Regions from separate parts of the Homo sapiens genome. Here region 2 is linked to region 1. Evidence: promoter capture Hi-C in 16 types of primary human blood cells and fetal thymus (Javierre and others, 2016). All regions are on one chromosome and are shown on one strand. The core of a region is centred on a gene start or on the middle of the fragment in contact, and the rest is flanking DNA. Distances in the headings are between cores, read along the strand shown. Region 1 holds the start of MON1A (MON1 vesicular trafficking associated A). Region 2 overlaps IP6K1 (inositol hexakisphosphate kinase 1).

Region 1 (6,650 bases), core at 1,622-4,121:
ATCCAATTTTTGTATTTTTAGTAGAGATGGGGTTTCATCATGTTGGCCAGGCTGGTCCCAAACTCCTGACCTCAGGTGATCCACCGGCCTCGGCCTCCCAAAGTGCTGGGATTACAGGCATGAGCCACCGCGCCCAGCTGAACTTGTGTTTTTATCCCTCAGGCAATTAAAAAAGAAAAATGGAAGGGAAAACTGAAAGATCTCTGAAGAATGCCCAGCTCTGTCACACCTGTGATGTGGCCTCTGGAAACCCCTGCCTGTGGGGAAGACTTATCACTGGTACTACTCAGGTGTTCAGGAACAATGGCTCCGAAGTTAGAGGGACCTGGATTAACCTGGCCTGGTCTCAGTTTTCTCATTTATAAAATGGGATAGTAGTATTGATTCCTTGGGTTGTGGGAAGATTAAATGAAATAATCCATGTAATTTGATTACATACTCAGTTGCTCCCATTAGCACATCCTGATTATTCTTACTTAGCATTCAGTCCATGTGTGACTGCACTTATAATACCACATGAATCCAGTGGTCTGTGCCATGTAAATCGGGCCTCTGAGATTTTGCTCAGCCTACAGTGGCATATGGGCAAATACGCTTCTGACCTTGCAAAGCCAGGTGGGCCCTAGCCTGAAGCGACTCACCTTCAGGCTAGGGCTATCATATAGACAGTTGGGAGTCAGGTCAAAGAGCTGTCTTATAGACAGCTGGGAGTTCCTCCAGGCTAACTGGTTGTTCACTGGCTCTGGAGTTGCAGGAATAGACAACGGGCTCTCTGCTGCTCTTGGAAGTATCTCCTAAATTAAACTCCTTAATTAGCCAGGTATGGTGGCAGGCGCCTATAATCCCAGCTACTCAGGAGGCTGAGGCAGGAGAATCACTTGAACCCAGGGGGCAGAGGTTGCAGTGAGCTGATATCGCGCCATTGCACTCCAGCCTGGGCAAAAGATTGAAACTCTGTCTCAAAAAAAAAAACAACAAAAAAAAACAAAAAACTCCTTGGTCTGCCACATGCCACTGCTCTGTGACGTTGCACTTTTGGTTCAAAGACCCAAACAAGGTCTACAATAGCTTACTTATTCTGTCCTCAGGGCCCACTCTCCACTGATCCCTTGTGGGCTTTAGCTGACTAAGCCCAGTGTGGCTGAGTGGTACCCAGCACGGTACCTGCATGGGGAAGGGTTGGCGGGGGCCAGATCAGCTGGCCAGAGCTAGTGGATGCTTCCTTCACAATAGTTCTCCTGCCACCTGAGATCATACAGTATCTCAGCATCTCCTAGGTCAGTCTGGGGTCCAGCCAGAGGCCTGATGAAGCAAACAGCTCTCTGAATACTTACTCTGGAAACTCAGACAGGGAGGCTGAGTGAATCACAGCAAAATCCACCCCAACCCCCATTGGAGCCACAACTGTGCAACTGAAGCTCCTGGGAGGCTAGAATTGAAGAAGTTAGGCAAAGGAGGTCTCTTAGAACCAGCCCCAGATGCCCCTTCTCAGGGAACCCTTCTCAGACAACCCCTCTAGAAGCCCCAGGCCTTGCTTTTCCTAGAAGTGCCCTGCTATGCCTGTGAGCAATGTCACCAAACAAGTTGGCTCAATCAGCCCTTGTAGTGTGCCTCTCTCACTCAGGCAGCCTTGGAGCAGAGAAGGCCTTCAGAAGCCCCTCCCTACTGACTCCCTACCACTCCTGCTCCCTCTTCTTGCTTGGATAGCACTTCATTTCACCTTAACCCTTTGGAGCGGCCTGTCTGGAAAGGAGGTGCCAGGATACAGGATGTGTGGCAGACAAGGCCCAGGTGAGGCTGTGCTATGGCTGCTTCAGCAGGATGCCTACTCCATGCTGAGATCACAGTCTGGTCCTTGTCACTTCTGGCGGTTACTTCCCTCCCTGACAAAGGGTGCTCACTCTCCCTCTGCAAACTTGTGCCCAGAAAGGGTGGCTCACCCAGTACAAGGGACAACCCAGTTGCACCAGGCAAACTGGTGCAAAGTCCGGCCAGGCGCAGTGGCTCATGCCTGTAATCCCAGCACTTTGGGAAGCTGAGGCAGGCAGATCACCTGAGGTCAGGAGTTCAAGACGAGCCTGGCCAACATGGTGAAACCCCGTCTCTACTAAAAAAATACAAAAATACAAAAAATTAGCTGGGCGTGGTGGCGCATGCCTGTAATCCCAGCTACTCGGGAGGCTGAGGCAGGAGAATCGCTTGAACCTGGGAGGCGGAGGTTGCAGAGAGCTGAGATCACACCACTGCACTCCAGACTGGGCAACAAGAGTGAAACTCCGTCTAAAAACAACAAAGCAAAGACCCAAGCCCCTTCCAGGTGCTGCCCCGCTCATCCCAGTTACCTCTGTTGCTTTTTGAGAAGACTCTACCGGCCGAATATGTGTACGTTTGTTGGCGGGGCGGGGGTGGGGGAGTGGGGAGAGTCCTACCTGGCCACTGCCCCCTACCGGATCTCGCCCTCCCAGCCAAAGGATGGGTTCCAGATCTCGCCTTTTGTATTCCCCAGCTGGGGACTAGCCGGCTGAGGGACCGCAGGGAGACACAGTCTTCCCATTGCAAACGATAGCGTTGATGGCTGGAGGCCCCCGTCTTCAAGCCCCTCCCTCCAAAGATGACAGCTCTCCAGTCTCTAGGTGCCTCCAGGCCACGTGGGCTGGCAGTCAACTCACCTGTTTCTCAGAGGAGTCCAGGACGCACAGAAGGTGCCGGTCACTGCCCTCTGCCGGACCCATGGAGGGGTAAGGGTGTCCGGCCGGGGCCGGCCTGAGGGCACAGCTTCGCGGGGCCCCGGCCCCCTGCGTACACAGACATGGCCACAGCGCAGGCACCGCTCCCTCCCACCGCCCTCACCCGGCCGCCGGTGCAGGAAGATAGCTTTCGCCGGCCTCTCGCGGCCAAGGCCCAGCTCCAGCCGCTCAGCCCGACTCGGCCCGCCCCCGGGGTGCATTGTGGGAAATGTAGTCCTTAGCGTTTGGCCGCCTGCGGCGCCGAGGGACTGGTTCTGGGCTCCTAGTCCCAGCAGAGCCGTGGGCAGGTCCTGACCCGGGTCCGCGATTGCCTCATCCGGCGCCGCCTTCTAGGGGCCTGGGCGCCTCCTCCGAGTCTAGAGTCCCACACAGAACAGCCCTGGACTCTGGGCCTCTCCGTCCGAGCCAGCTAGCAGTTCATTTCAAGTGAGAGAAAGGGACGTTAGGATTGTTTCTCCCACTGATTGTGGAAGGACAGTGCAAGTTTGGGGGACTGGATAAATGTCATTAGTGGGCCCAGCCACACAGGCTGTAAAGGATGTGGGCATGCGCAAAAGTCGCACTAATTGTTTCTAAAAACATATTTGTAGCCACGTTTTAATGTATCAGTATAATGCTCTAGAACGGTAGTTCTCAACTCTGACGGCACATAGAATAAGCCGGGAAGCTTTAAAAAAAAAAAAAAAGAACTAGGACGGGCGAGGCGGCTCACGCCTGTAATCCCAACACTTGGGAGACCGAGGTGGGCGGATCACTTGAGGTCAGGAGTTCCAGACCAGCCTGGCCAACATGGTGAAACCCCATCTCTACTAAAAATACAAAAACTAGCCAGGCTTGATGGCGTGTGCCTGTAGTCCCAGATACTCGGGAGGCTGAAGTGGGATTCCAGGAGGTCGAGGTTGCTGTGAGCCATGATCATGCCCTGCACTCCAGCCTGAGCACCAGAGCGAGACCCTGTCTCAAAAACAACAACAAAAAAACTAATGCCTGGACACCAGCCCTAGAGATTTTGATTTAATTGAATTTAGAGTAGGGTGGAGTGTTGGGGAGCCAGGCATCACTATTGTTTTAAAAGCTCCCCAGGTGATTTACCATTGCAAAGAATCATTGTTTGTAATTTCCTAGACGCAAAGCAATAAAAACAACAGGAAAACAGTCAACAACAGGCTCTCCCAAAAGACCCTTATTTTTAGAGATGGTTTTAAAAAGTAAAATTAGTGTTTGGCACCACTGCTCATGTTCTTTTCTGAAGCAATTAATTCACTTTACAGCCTTATGGTTAATTCTCCCAAAAGTTAATAGGATGAAAAAAAAAGTCAGATCACTCCTCTGACTTTCCCTGCTGCTCCACAAGCACCTGGGGGCAGTGTCCTTTTCCTCTCTAAGCCCTACACTGGAGTTAGGGTAGAGCTCCGCCCCTGGGCTTTTCTTCCAGTCTCAGATGGCTGCCACTTGTAGCCTGCTTCCACAACACTGGCCTGTGACTGACATGGTGACAAAGCTGTGGCCTTTCACTGAAGATGGCTTTGCATAAGGCTATCAAGTTCTTGCACATAGTCTAAGGGAAGCTTTCTCACCCCCATGTCCCCCACTTTTAGGTAAGGACATAAGAAAATGCCCTATTCCTTAACTGAGAGTCTCTCCAGGTCTCCACAGATCACTCAGTATTTTATCTCCTCATTAGCTCAGAAGTCCAAGTTCCCTCCCTTAGGGCAAGAATCATTTATACAGTTGTTTTCTCTAATTATTACACTATAAGAGTTTGAGCCATGAGCTGGGCTTGGTGGCACAGCCTTGTAATCCCAATTACTCCACAGGCTGAAGCAGGAAGAATTACTTGAGCCCAGGAGATCAAGTCTGAAGTGAGCCATGATCATGGACAACAAGAAGGAGAAAGTTAAGAAAGAAGGAAGGAAGGGAGGGAGGGAGGAAGGAAGGAAGGAAGGAGAGTTTAAGTCAAGATATAACATTCTCTGCTTGGTACAGAAATGTCCTGGCTATGTTCCTTTCCTTTTTCTTTTTCTTTTTTTATTTTTTTTTTAGAGATGGTGGTTTCACTATGCTATGTTGACAAGGCTGGTATCGAACTCTTGGCCTCAAGCAATTTTCCCATCTTGGCCTCCCAAAGTACTGTGATTACAGGCATAAGCCACCATGCCTGGCTAATATCCTGCCTATATTTCATTAACTTGAATTTACACCCTATAGAATTCATCTCCATAGAAGACAAATTAATTTAATTTACTTATTTTTTTTCAAATGAAGTCTCTATCATCCAGGCTAGAGTGCAGTGGTGCCATCTCAGCTCACTGCAACCTCTGCCTTCTGGGTTCAAGTAGTTCTCTGCCTCAGCCTCCCGAGTGGCTGGGATTACAGGTACCTACCACCACGCCCAGCTAATTTTTGTATTTTTAGTAGAGACAGGGTTTCACCATCTTGGCCAGGCTGGTCTTGAACTCCTGACCTCGTGATCCACCCGCCTCAGCCTCCCAAAGTGCTGGGATTACAGGCATGAGCCACCACACCCCGCCCAGAAGACAAATTTAAAGTTTTCTTTTTTTTTTTTTTTTTGAGACGGAGTCTCGCTCTGTTGCCCAGGCTGGAGTGCAGTGACGTGATCTCAGCTCACTGCAACCTCCGCCTCCCGCGTTCAAGCAATTTTCCTGCCTCAGCCTCCAGAGTAGCTGGGATTACAGGTGCGTACCACCACGCCCGGCAAATTTTTGTGATTTTTGTATTTTTAGTAGAGACATGTTTCACCATGTTGGTCAGACTGGTCTCGAACTCCTGACCTCGTGATTCATCCATCTCGGCCTCCCAAAGTGCTGGGATTACAGGTATGAGCCACTGCGCCCGGCCAGTTTTTTGTTTTGTTTTGTTTTTTTGAGATGAAGTCTTGCTCAGTCACCCAGTCTGGAGTGCAGTGGCACTATCTCGGCTCACTGCAACCTTAGCCTCCCACGTTCAAGCGATTCTCCTGCCTCAGCCTCCCAAGTAGCTGGGACTACAGGCATGCACCACCATGCCCAGCTAATTTTTTTATTTTTAGTAGAGATGGGGTTCCACCATGTTGGCCAGGATGGTCTCAATCTCTTGACCTTGTGATCCGCCCGCCTCGGCCTCCCAAAGTGCTGGGATTACAGGCGTGAGCCACTGCGTCCAGCCTAATTTTTGTATTTTTAGTAGAGACGGGGTTTCACCAATGTTGGCCAGGCTGATCTCGAACTCCTGACCTTGTGATCCGCATCCACCCACCTCGGCCTCCCAAAGTGCTGGGATTACAGGTGTGAGCCACTGCGCCTGACCAAATTTAAAGTTTTCTACCTAACTAGTTCTTGACAGTCTCCATGTTTAGCTCAGGATTTCTTCCAGAGTCTTACTATTCCTGTTAAGCACATCAGCTCCACCAGATAGTACTACTGTCATCTGGAAGTATTACATCTACTTAGCTAAGCAAGTGGCCATATATCTCATATATTTCTCGCTAAGACTTGTGCCTAAGACATTCTCGCAGAGCAAATCATGGTGGGTACTTACTAAAACATCTTAGGTTATTACTTAAAACTTTGTTTTAATCCACTTTTTTTTTTTTTTTTGAAACGGTGTTTCACTCTTGTTGCCCAGGCTGAAGTGCAATGGTGCGATCTCGGCTCACCACAACCTCCTTCTCCCGGGTTCAGGCGATTTTCCTGCCTTAGCCTCCCAAGTAGCTGAGATTACAGGCATGTGCCACCACACCCGGCTAATTTTGTATTTTTAGTAGAGATGGGGTTTCTCCATGTTGGTCAGGCTGGTCTCGAACTCCCGACCTCAGGCAATCCACCCACCTCGGCCTCCCAAAGTGCTGGGATTACAGGCATGAGCCCCCATGCCCGGCCTTGTTTGTTTTTTGAGTCAGGGTCT
Region 2 (6,650 bases), core at 3,082-5,581, 190 kb before region 1:
AATTTTTTTGTATTTTTAGTAGAGACGGGGTTTCACCATGTTAGCCAGGATGGTCTCATCTCCTGACCTCGTGATCCACCCGTCTCGGCCTCCCAAAGTGCTGGGATTACAGGCGTGAGCCACCAGGCCCGGCCTAAAGTTCTTTATAATATTCTTCTTCTTCTTAAGAGACAGGGTCCCATTGGAGTGCAGTGGTGCCATCATAGCTCACTACAACCTCGAACTCCTGGACTCAAGTGATCCTCCTGCCTCAGCCTCTCAAGTAGCTGGGACCTCACCTGAGATCAGGAGTTCCACACCAGCCTGGCCAACATGTCGAAACCCCATCTCTACTAAAAATACAACAGTTATCCAGACATGGTGGTGCGTGCCTATAATCCCAGCTACTCAGGAGGCTGAGGCAGGAGAATCACTTGAAGCCGGGAGACGGAGGTTGCAGTGAGCCAAGATCAGCCTGGGCAACAGAGCAACACTCCATCTCAAAAAAATAAAATAAAAATAAAATAAAATTGTGGTGTTTGGGCCAGGTTCAGTGGCTCACACTGTAATTCCAGCTCTTTGGGAGGCCAAGGCAGGACTGCTTGAACACAGGAGTTCAAGACCAGCCTGAGCAACACAGCAAGACCCTGTCTCTATAAAATATAAAAATAAAAATAAGTTGTGGTGTTCAGTCAATAGATCGATCGATAGAAACATAAAATTTGCAATTCTTTTTTTTTTTTTTTTTTTTTTGGTAGCGACAAGGCTTGCTATGTTGCCCAGTCTGGTCTGGAACTCCGGGCCTCAAACAATCCTCTTGCCTTCGCTTCCCAAAGTGCTAGGATTACTGGTGTGAGCCACCATGCCCAGCCATTTAATCATTTTTAAAGGTACAATTCAGTGGGCATTAAGTACATTGACAATACTGAATAACCACCACCATTATCTATTTCCAAAATGTTTTTCATCACCTGAAACAAAAATGCTGTACCCATTAAGCAGTAACTCCCCATTTTCCCTTCCTCCTAGCCCCAGTAACCAAATCTACTTTCTATCTCTACAGATTTGCCTATTATGCATATTTCATATAAGTGAAATCATACAATGTTTGTTCTTTTGTGTCTGGCTTAGTTCACTTAGCATAGTGTTTGCAAGGTTCATCTGTGTCACAGCATATATCAGAACTTCATTCTTTTTTATGGCTCAATAGTATTCCATTGTAAGTATATATCACATCTGTTATGTATTATCTATATTGATGGACACTTGGGTTGTTTCCACCTTTTAGCTATTATGAATGATGCTGTTGTGAACACTGGCTTACAACAATCCATTTGAATCCCTGTTTTTTCTTTTTTCTTTTTTTTTTTTTTTGAGATGGAATCTTGCTCTGTCGCCCAGGCTGGAGTGCAGTGGTGCAACCTCAGCTCACTGCAATCTCCGCCTCCCGAGGTGATTCTCCTGCCTCAGCCTCCTGAGGAGCGGGGATTACAGGTGCCTGCCACCACGCTCGGCTACTTTTTGTATTTTTTAGCAGAGACAGGGTTTTGCCATGTTAGCCAGGCTGGTCTTGAACTACTGACCTCAGGTGATCTGCCCGCCTCCCAAAGTACTAGGATTACAGGCATGAGCCACTGCACCTGGCCACAGTCCCTGTTTTCAATTGTTTTGGATATATATGTAGGAGTGGAATTGCTGGATCATATGGTTTCTGTGTTCACCTTTGGGAGGAACTGCCAAACTCTTTTCCACAGTGGCTACACCACTTTACATTTTCATCAGCAATGTTCCCATTTCTCCACATCCTTGCCAACAGTTATTTCCCTTTTTTCTTTAAACTATTATAGCCATACTAGGTAAAATAAGATACCTGGTATGAAGTGGTATCTTATTTTGGTTTTGATTTGCATTTCTTAATGACTAATCATGTTGATGTGCTACTGGCCATCTGTATGTCCTCTCTGGAAAAATCTCTATTCAAGCCCTTTGTGCAGTTTTGAAACTGGGTGATTTTTATTGCTTTCAAAACATAATCAGAAGAATACTAAATTTGGAAAAATAAATATTCTAAGGCTGCTAAATAAGAACAAAGCCAGAAATAAACACACTGCTTTCTCCAAGTGGCTAGGAAACTTTAACAGTCCCAAACACTTTATAAATGTAGCTTCAGCCACCTATCCATCCACATTCAAAACACTGAAGGCCAAACATTCTGCCATAAATATGCCAAAGCCAGAAATAAAACTATAGGCCCTGTCAGCTCATGGAGTCCTTCTGATGCTAAGGAAAAAATCCCTTAAAAGGTAAATGAGCCCTGCTTCCAGATAGGTGTTCTCTAAATTACAACCATCAGAACTGGGACAAGACAATTTAGAACTTCAAGGTGCCTCCCAGGGAAGGGTTGGCAGTCTCTAGCACTGGTTCAGTATTTCCTCACACCTTCCTCCTCTCAAACTGAGTAACAGGTATCTTTAAAGGCCATAATATGAGAGGATTGCTTGAGGTCAGGAGTTTGAGTCTGCAGTGAGCCATGACTGTACCACTGCACTCCAGCCTGGGCGACACAGCAAGACCCTGTCTCAAAATAAAAATAAAAAAATAAAAGCCACAGTAAATTCTTAGGATCTACTTTATTTTCTTTGCTTAGGCTACATTTTCACTAGGAAAGAATAAATATGCTAGCTCAAAAGTACAATTCAATTAAACTAAAATTAATCCCTTCTTTCTAAGTCAAATGAAGCCCAATTTAGTCAAAGAAAATAGAAGCATAGGCTGGGCACGGTGGCTTACGCCTGTAATCCCAGCACTTTGGGAGGCTGAGGGGGGCGGATCACGAGGTCAGGAGATTGAGACCATCCTGGCTAACACGGTGAAACCCTGTCTCTACTAAAAATACAAAAAATTAGCCGGGCGTGGTGGTACACGCCTGTAGTCCCAACTACTCGGGAGGCTGAGGCAGGAGAATGGCGTGAGCCCGGGAGGCAGAGCTTGCAGTGAGCCAAGATCGCGCCACTGCACTCCAGCCTGGGCAACAGAGTGAGACTCCATCTCAAAAAAGAAAAAGAAAAAAAAATAGAAGCATAGTGGAAGATATTATTAGTCAAATTAATCTATTTCAGGGCCAGGCATGGTGGCTCACATCTGTAATCCCAGCACATTGGGAGGCCAAGGCAGGCAGATCACTTAAGCTTAGAAGTTTGAGACCCGCCTGGGCAACATGGTGAGACCCTGTCTCTACAAAATACAAAAAAAAAGAGCCGGTGCACACCTGTGGTCCCAGCTACTCCAGAGGCTGAGGTGGGAGAATCACTTGAGCCCAGGAGGTCAAGGCTGTGGTGAGTTGAGATCGTGCCACTGCATTCCAGTCTGGGCAACAGAGTGAGACCCTGTCTCAAAATAGTATATAAATAAATAAATTGGACTAAAATTTTATATTAAAAAAACACACAGTCCAGCCACGGTGGCTCATACCTGTATCCAGGCACTTTGGGAGGCCAAGGCAAGTGGGTCACTTAAGGTCAGGAGTTCGAGACCAACCTGACCAACATGGTGAAACCCCATCTCTACTAAAAATACAAAAATTAGCCAGGAATGGTGGCAGGCACCTGTAAGTCCCAGCTACTCAGGAGGCTGAGGTCCTTGAACCCAGGAGGTAGAGGTTGCAGTGAGCCAAGTTCATACCACTGCACTCTAGCCTAGGCAATGAAGCAAGACCCTATCTCAAAACAAAAACAAAAACAAAATACACACACACACACACACACACACACACACACACACACACTTACCTTTCAGCTGGGAGCAGTGGCTCACACCTGTGATCCCAGCTACTTGGGAGGCTGAGGTATCATGCCTCATGGAGGAGGATCACTTGAGACCAGGAGTTCAAGACTAGCCCAGGCAACATAGTGAGGTCCGATCTCTTAAATCTCAGCACTATGAGAGGCCAAGGTGGGAGGATTCCTTGAGGCTAGGAGTTCAAAACTAGCCTGGGTAACAGAGCAAGACCCTGTCTCTACAAAAAACTTTAAAAATTACCTAGTTGTAGTGGCGTGCCTATAGTCCCAGCTACTCGGGGGGCTGAGGTGGGAGGATCACTTGAGCCATAGTTTTTTTTTTTTGTTTTTTTTTTTTTTTTGAGACAAGAGTTTCACTCTTGTTGCCCAGGCTGGAATGCAATGGCGTGGTCTCTGCTCACTGCAACCTCTGCCTCCCGGGTTCAAGTGATTCTTCTGCCTCAGCCTCCCAAGTAACTGGGATTATAGGCACCTGCCAGCACACCCAACTAAGTTTTGTATTTTTAGTAGAGACAGGGTTTCACCATGTTGGCGAGGCTGGTCTCGAACTCCTGACCTCAGGTGATCCGCCTGCCTCGGCCTCCCAAAGTGCTAGGATTATAGGCATGAGCCACCATGCCCGGCGGAGCCATGGTTTCGAGGCTGCAGTGAGGTATGATTGCACCACTGCACAATGCGCCACAATTATTACTGTGTTGTAATGTCTAATGGTGTGTGTAATGCCTAATGGTGTGTGCTGAATGGTATTACTGTGTTGTCTGCCTAATGGTGACTTCTATTCCCATCATTCCTTCTATATTTATTAATCAAAATAAATCAGAATTCTGGCCGGGCACGGTGGCTCACTCCTGTAATCCCAGCACTTTGGGAGGCCGAGGCAGGTGGATCACAAGGTCAGGAGATTGAGACCATCCTGGCTAACATGGTGAAACCCTGTCTCTACTAAAAATACAAAAGATTAGCCAGGCTTGGTGGCGGGAGCCTGTAGTCCCAGCTACTCGGGAGGCTGAGGCAGAAGAATGGCGTGAACCCGGGGGGCAGAGCTTGCAGTGAGGCGAGACTGCGCCACTGCACTCCAACCTGGACAACAGAGCGAGACTCCGTCTCAAAAAAAAAAAAAAAAAAAAAAAAAAAGAAATTAGAATTCTATAAGGAAGAGTTGTCCCTTCATATCCATGTATTTATCAGTATAGACTTGTGGATATTTTGTCATTTAAATTCTTCTAGATTGGGCCCTTCAATTCCTTTAAAGTTAGCTCTTCGTACTTCTGACATGATTTTTGACCACTTCTTTACTATCTGTCACCATAAGATGTTCTAGGCTTGTCTTATAATTTTCCTGCCCGAACTCAGGAACCAACCATTTCACCAAGGAGCTCTGTTTCTTTTTATTGTAAGAATGGTATTTAGAAAACTCAGGATTTGGTTACTAGATATACTGATTGCTACTGAAGTATCACTGCTTTTAGGCCCTTTCAGCACATGGAGCTAAGAAATACATGTATGATTACTAGCCCACACACATACACACATCTAATTGCTGCTATCAGCACAGGTGTTTAAGCTCAATTAAGCTAAGAAAAAGTGTCAATAATATTTCATATCTTGGCAGGTTTAAAAACAAATTTTCATTTATTTAGTATGACCAGCTACAATCATCAACTGTTAGTGCTTGCAGTACTAAATGTGAAGTTCAAGGCTTCTGTACATTTATGCAAATAAGCTTTGCCTCATTCATTTATCAAGTATTTACTGACCATCTACTAGATGCCAGGCCCTGAACTCATAAGTGTAAAAGACAAAAAAAAAAGTCCATACCTTCAAGGAGCTTCCATACTAATGTGAAAAACAAACACATAGACAAAAATACAGATTGTGATAAGTGCTATGAAGAAACTAAGTAAGGTTCTATCACTGAAAATATGGTTTCCAGAGCAGAATATAATATAGGATGATCAGGGAAGAAGTGTCTGGGGAGACCTAATAAACTAAAGGTTGGAGGAGCAGGTGTGGATAAGGGTACTGGAAAGAACATTCCAAGCATAAGTAAAATCCCTGAGGTTAATTAAAATAAAAATGAAATTTAAAAAGCTTGAGATGTCCTAAAAACTGGTTCACCTCTTTCTGCCAATTAAGAAACAACCCAGGCCAGTCATGGTGGCTCACACCTATAATCCCAACACTTTGGGAGGCCAAGGCAGGTAGGTCACCTGAGTTGAGTTTGAGACCAGCCTGGCCAATATGGCAAAACCCCGTCTCTACTAAAAATACAAAAATTAGCCAGGCATGGTGGCACATGACTGTAATCCCAGCATTTTGGGAGGCCAAGGCAGGCAAATCACCTAAAGTCAGGAGTTCGAAAGCAGCTTGCCCAACATGGTGAAACCCCATCTCTACTAAAAATACAAAATTTAGTTAGGCGTGGTGGCACATGCCTGTAATCCCAGCTACTTGGGAGGCTGAGGCAGAAGAATCGCTTGAACACGGAGGTGGAGATTGCAGTGAGCCGAGATCGTGCCACTGCACTCCAGCCTGGGCGACAGAGCAAGACTCTGTCTCAAAAAAAAAAAAAAAAAAAGACAGAAACAACCCAATTCAAAATGGTCAAAGGACTTGAATAGACATTTCTTTAAGAAGGTATACCAACAGACAATAACAAAAAAATCCTCTGCATCATTCGTTAGACATTAGGAAAAAGCAAGTCAAAGCCACAGATACCACACACATCCACTAGGATGGCTACAAAAAGAAAAGAAAAGGAGTGTTGGTAAGGATGTGGAGAAATAGGGACCCTTGTACATTGCTGGTAAGAAGGCAAAGTGGTGCAGCCACTGTGGGAAACAGTTTGGCAGTTCCTCCGAAAGGTAAACAAAG

Evidence for each region. The method cuts DNA at HindIII sites, captures the fragments that hold promoters and counts their contacts. A CHiCAGO score of 5 or more calls a contact.
Region 2: a fragment that was not itself captured here is called in contact with the fragment with the promoter of MON1A in region 1 in 1 of 17 cell types (endothelial precursors); the score reaches 5.0 in endothelial precursors.

What each region holds. Positions count from the first base shown.
Region 1 is chr3:49,926,940-49,933,589 of GRCh38, forward strand. MON1A (MON1 vesicular trafficking associated A) reads right to left here and starts at 2,872. Exons shown (of 6, transcript NM_032355.4): 1 at 2,670-2,872. RefSeq lists a silencer at 2,579-2,928. The HindIII fragment of the contact is 4,855 bases long and covers 1-3,412 here.
Region 2 is chr3:49,739,519-49,746,168 of GRCh38, forward strand. All of the region lies in intron 2 of IP6K1 (inositol hexakisphosphate kinase 1), which reads right to left. Among named protein-coding and RNA genes, the nearest start is that of GMPPB, 19 kb to the left of the region's middle. The HindIII fragment of the contact is 2,332 bases long and covers 3,166-5,497 here.